Regions from separate parts of the Homo sapiens genome. Here region 2 is linked to region 1. The links are contacts of gene promoters, found by promoter capture Hi-C in human tissues and cell types (Jung and others, 2019). All regions are on one chromosome and are shown on one strand. Each heading gives the region's core, a stretch centred on a gene start or on the middle of the fragment in contact. The rest is flanking DNA. Distances are from core to core; before and after follow the strand shown. Region 1 holds the start of AP1G2 (adaptor related protein complex 1 subunit gamma 2). Region 2 has its middle 14 kb from the start of MYH7.

Region 1 (2,875 bases), core at 214-2,713:
GGGCCAGGTCTCGGCACATCTCAGCAGAGCCCATGGTGCTCAAAGTGCACAAGGCCAGGCCTTGTACTGGCTGAATCCCCTGGCTCAGGTCACTGCAGGGTTTGGGAGGACGGTCAGTCAAACCTCTGAGAAAATCAGTCCTTTTCAATACCCACAACAGGCAGTCCCCTGGGATTTCCAAGGTCCCTACTCTCCCATCTCCCTGATTCCAAGTGATTGCCAGAACCCTCTCACTTCTTGATGCTGTTGGTAATGAGCAGGTGGGCATCGTGCCTCTCATCCAATAGAAGCATGGCCCCCAGGTAGCCCACCCTCTTGTCTGTGAATCTGGAGGAGGCGATCAGTTTCAGGCACTCCATCTATAGTGAAGGGGGCAGACCAGGAAGAGGCAGGGGTGAAACCATAGACACTCACATCCCTGTTCCATCTTCCTCTTTAAAACCAGATTAACCTGTGGGGCATCATATCTCATCACTCTCCCTTCAACAAGAGGAGAAGCTTAGGAAATTCAGGCGTTAGTGGGTAGGAGGAACTAGGAGTTGAGGAGGATGGGAGCGGAGAGGAGGAGATGCCTGCCCTAAAGGAGGCTGGCCAGAGAATGAAGGGTTCAGGCCAGCTGATGACCAGTAGGGGTAGCAATGGGGAAAGAGGTTTGCAGTGCAGGCTGTGAAGACTCTGAAATTGTAGAATTTAAAAAACCAGGGCATAAACAGGTGAGAGAGTCTGGGACTCTGCCCCACTAGCCTTCATCAAGCTCAGGAGGGAGGTATTCCTGGCCAGTACCTGTCCAAAGTGGGCGGGGTAGCCCAACATGTGGACGTAGAGCAGTTTGGCCAGCTGCCGGTGCCTGTGCACTGGGTCCCCGTCGCGGAAGGAGGCCCGGATGTGGGCACACTCCTTTTGGATCACCTCCCGCTCCTGGGCCTGAGTCTTGGCCCCGCGAATCTCTTCGATGAGGTCCTGAAGCTTCAGCGAAGGCACCACCATCCTGACTGGCAGAGTCCGGGAGTGGAGAAACACTCTCTGGTCGGGCGTGCCTGGGCTTTCGGCCCAGGCCCGTCCTGTGTCAAGACCCTAAGAGCCCGGGTCCCACAGGTACCCTAAAATTGCGCCCGCATTTTACCTTTCCCGAAGTGGGTCTCCAAATTCCGCGCCCACCCCACCGCCCGAGAAGCCCACTACGCATGCGTCCGCACCCCACCGGCGCCCCTTCCTATTGAGCATGCGCGGGAGCCCCACCTATTTCTCTCTACCGTTTCCTCCCCCTACCTGGTACCCCATCCCTAGCTCAGCCATTGCTTTTTTTTCCACGACCCTCCGCTGTTTCTTCCGCGAGCTTCCTCCCCCGATTTCCATCTCAGGCAGCGGCAGCGGCAGCGACAGCCTGCCTACCCCAGGACTCCAGCCTCACCTGGCTTCTGCCTCAACTCCGCTCCTCTGCCCCCCAGCGCTTCCTGGTACGGGGCCGAGCAGGGGTTGGTGCTCCGTGCGGTCCTTCCCTCTCCCCGCCTCCACCACGGGACCCCGCCCTCCTGGGCCGACTGCAGAGCCTTCCTGAATCCTCTGACCTCGGGCCTCAGGCTTTAGCGGAGAGACAGCATGATAGGCCTGGAGTTCTTCAAGAGGCCTCCTCGCACATCCTTACCACCCGGAGAGCCTCAGTTTGGATTTGAAGCCATCGCACCCCAAAGGAGATGACAATCCCCCCCCTTTTTTGAACTTTTTTATTAATATATTTTTTTTGTTAAATTTCTTTGTATTTTTTTCCTGCAAGACTTGGTGTTGGCGGCACTGTTGTAGTTTAACTTCAATCCCAAATTCCATGAAATAGAAATCAGAAGTAAAGGTTGAGAGGGGAGGAAGGAGGGAGGCAAGCCAAGGAATAAACAAGAGTTTGACTAGAAAAAAAGAAGAGGGTATGTGTGGTGGGCATTCCTGGGCAAGGCCATTCCTTGAGGGAGGGGGTTGGCAGGCAGCTTGCCTCTGCCTCATGCAGGGGAGGGAGGAAAGATCCCCTGGGGACCCTGCAGTCCCCTCTTCCTAGGGCTTCCTGCTCCCAGGGGAAAAACTAATACCAGAGAGGGATCAGCCACAACCTCAAACAGGGCTCTCCACCCACCTGTCACCCGGGTTTGACTCCCACCTCTGCCCTGCCTGGGAAGCATGTGAGATCAGCTATCTTTGATCCCCTCCTTCTGTTGTTTTCCCATTTCACAAGATTCTGATGTAAAGGGGGAAGGGATATAACCCATTTTGGGACTACTAAACTTGTCACAGCTTCTGCTTCCATGTGAGCTCCTGTTATCTTGTCTGGTCCTATCCCCCAGAAGTGCCTCCTCCCACCACAACTCCCAGAGTTGGGATGTGGGGGCCTTGCTCAAGTGCCTCTAACCCTCTGCAGTAGAAATGTCTTCTTCAGGCCCCTTAGGAATTTAATCAAAGGCCACAAGTGAGTCCAGACCAACCAAATAAACTATTATGGGGGAGACAGAAGGGTGGGAGAAGTCAGTGGCAAAGTCTGGGCAGGGTGGACTTGACTGCATTGGATATTCTCTGTTCCTTTACACGTTGCTCTTGGCATGGCATGCCACCAGAGGGGGCTGGAGGAGGGGCTGGCCGATGAGGAGAAAAAGAGGGAAATGCTGGGGAGTTACTCTACTTTTCACTTCCCTTCTCTCCTTCAGGGAAGGATGGAATTGGGCAGTAACCCAGCTCAGTGCTTGGAGGTAAGATAATAGCCTCCAAGATTAGAGGTGGAGGATGCACCTCCTGCAGCTTTTTCACTAGGCCTCAGAGGGACAGCAGGCCCCTTAGGCTAGGGAGCCACAGCAGCTCAGCCAGTGCCTTGCCCGACATTCAATCACTCCTTCTTCAT
Region 2 (2,875 bases), core at 245-2,744, 120 kb before region 1:
GGTGGGGACACAGATACAAATTATATCAGAATATGTCAAGAAGGAGCTGAGCAGAGAAGCCAGCGTGTCCAAAGCCCCAAGAGGAACTGAAATTGATTCAGAATGGCTAAAGTATGGGAGTAATCAGGGGAATATGACAAGAGAAGAGCCTAGAAGGCAGGTTCAGCTGGTCATGAAGGACCTTCTGAACCAAGTTAAGGAAGTTTGGACTTTAATCTATAGGCACTGAGCAGCTATTAATGTGTATTAAAAGAGATCATGATACTATCTGATTTTATAGAATAGGTGGCATAACCAGTGATTCTTGGGGGAAAGCAACGTTTAGTTTCTGATTCATTTGCATGAGAGATTCTAGACTTGTGGTCACAGGTAAAGAATGAAGAAACCTACCTAGAGAAACTGGGAACTAGAGAAGAGAAAGGGGAAGGGATCCAGGAGAAAGGTACTCAGTTACATTTATACTATTCGGCAGATTCCACCTTCGAAATGTCCCGCCTCCTCCTTTCTTTTCCATTCTCTTGAAAAACACTAGGCAAGCCCCTTTTTCACGTCTGCATAATTGCAACAGCACCTTAACTAGTCTTCCAGAGGCTCATTTCACCAGATGGCTAGCAGACTTGATTTTCTAAAGCACTACCTCTTACATATCTGTCATTCATAGAAACTTCCAGGGCTCCCTGTTGTCTTTAAGATGAAGCCTGGACTCCTCTGGCTGGCATTTAAAGACCCTCCATAAGCTGGCCCAACTGCCCCACCTTATCCCTTCACAGTCTCCCCCCAGGTCTGACTGGTCTATGGACAGCACCCTCACCCCAGGTTGGGCTTTCTCAGTCCCTGACCTTGTCGGGACTTTTTCTGGCTGCTTTTCTAGGCACAGCTCAGTGGCTCTCCTTTGAAAGCACTTGCCAGTCCAACACAGCTGACCCTGAAACACACAAAACAAACTTTGTTGAAACTTTACAACTACAAAAATGACACCCAAGATCTCCTACCCAATCACATTATTCTCCTTTGTTCAGTTCTTTCCAAGGGGTGTGTATATGTGTATAATACATATTTTTTGTATGGCTGCTGTGTGTAGATATATATGTACATAATCTCATAAAACACCAATTAGCATTTCATATTCTTACAATCTTATATTTCATAAATGGGGATAATAATATTGCTAACCTATGGGTTTGCTGTCAGATAACTTAATACAGTGATATAGTTTAAATATGTGTCCCCCCAAATCTCATGTTGAAATGTAATCCTCAGTGTTGGAGGTGGGGACTGGTGGGAGGTGTTTAGGTCCTGGGCGTAGATTTCTCATGAATGGTTTAGCTCCATCCCCTTGGTGCTGTCCTCACCATAGTGTGTGTGTTCTCTCAAGATCTGATTGTTTAAAAGCGTGTGGCACCCTCTCCCTGTCTTGCTCCCGCTCTTGCCATATGACATGCCTTCTCCTGCTTTGCCTTCTGCCATGAGTAAAAGTTCCTTGAGGCCTTCCCTGAAGCTGAGCAGATACTGTAAAGCCTGCAGAACTGTGAGGCAATTAAACCTCTTTTCTTCGTAAATTACCCAGTCTCAGGTACTTCTTCATAGCAATGCAAGAATGGCATAATACATACAGAGATTCTCAAACTTGTTCATGCTGCAGAATCACACAGAAGCTTTGTTAGGACACATTTTCTTGGCTGGGTGCAGTGGCTCATGCTTGTAATCCCAGGACTTTGGGAGGCAGATCATTTGAGGTCAGGAGTTTGAGACCAGCCTGATCAACATGATGAAACCCCATCTGTATGAAAAATACAAAACAATTAGCTGGTGTGGTGGTGCATGCCTATAATCCCAGCTACCTGGGAGCCTGAAGCAGGAGAATCACTTGGGCCTGGGAGGTGGAGACTGCAGTAAGCCGAGATTGCATCACTGCACTCCAGCCTGGGATGCCTGAATTTGCATACCAGATGCTACTGGATTGAGGACCACACATTGAGAACCACTGAATTAATGCATGTAAAGTGCTCAGAATAGTGCCTGGCATGTAGTAAATGCCCAATAAATGGAGCTACGGAGCTATTCATTTGCTATTTCTGAGTAAAAATATTAACATTTACTTGTTTGATATTTAGATTGTTTATAGTTTTAAATAACATTGTTATTGAGATATAATTCATGTGCCATAACATTTACCATTTTACAATATACGATTCAGTAGTTTTTAGTATATTCAGAGTTGTGCAAGCATCACCACTATCAAATTTTAGAACATTTTCATCACCCCCAAAAGAAATACCATACCTATTAGCAGTTACTCCTCTTTCCCACTGACTCCCTGTTTGTAGTTTTTTTGAACTTATAAATAAAGTATCTCTAAACATAAGTACACATGGCTTCTTTTTATTTTGAATGATTTCAATAGAACAAATTCTAGGAGACGAATTCCTTAGTCAAAAATTATGAATATGTTTACATATAGCCACTCTTTGAAAGCATTAATTTACAATCATTGTGGCTTTTTTTCCTGCTGTTGCTTTTCATTGTTAGCATATTGCTTATTCTTACACCGCTTCAGTTTCCTTAAGTTGATGGCACCAGAATATGAGGTCCTTGGGGTTGAGAACTGTAATATTTTCATCTTTGTGTCCCCTAGGGCTACACTACTGAGTGTGGTAGTCACTAGCCAAACATGGCTGTTGGGTACTTGAAATGTGTCTAGTGCAACTGAGACACTGAATTTTTCATTTAGTTAAAATTTAAAATGAAGGGAGATCAATTTATTTTCAACAAAGATTCCAAAACAATTCTTTGAGGAAATGGTGCTGGATACACACATGCAAAAAGATACATTTAGACCACACCCCACACTATACACAAAAATAACTTAAAACAG

The links. Contacts are between HindIII fragments. The study calls those that stand out against the background at their distance.
Region 2: a contact is called between a fragment that was not itself captured here and the fragment with the promoter of AP1G2 in region 1, in 3 of the 25 tissues and cell types used here (dorsolateral prefrontal cortex, lymphoblastoid cells and spleen).

Annotation. Positions count from the first base shown.
Region 1 is chr14:23,566,328-23,569,202 of GRCh38, forward strand. AP1G2 (adaptor related protein complex 1 subunit gamma 2) reads right to left here and starts at 1,464. Exons shown (of 22, transcript NM_003917.5): 1 at 1,412-1,464; 2 at 784-992; 3 at 235-359; 4 at 1-92. The coding sequence starts at 987. JPH4 (junctophilin 4) reads right to left here. Exons shown (of 6, transcript NM_001146028.2): 6 at 1,711-2,875. It overlaps AP1G2-AS1 (AP1G2 antisense RNA 1), which reads left to right. Exons shown (of 4, transcript NR_110555.1): 3 at 1-1,095; 4 at 1,362-1,749. RefSeq lists enhancers at 677-766, 797-1,036 and silencers at 1,517-1,566, 2,556-2,655. The HindIII fragment of the contact is 7,450 bases long and covers 733-2,875 here.
Region 2 is chr14:23,448,682-23,451,556 of GRCh38, forward strand. No RefSeq gene overlaps it. Among named protein-coding and RNA genes, the nearest start is that of MYH7, 14 kb to the left of the region's middle. The HindIII fragment of the contact is 6,568 bases long and covers 1-2,875 here.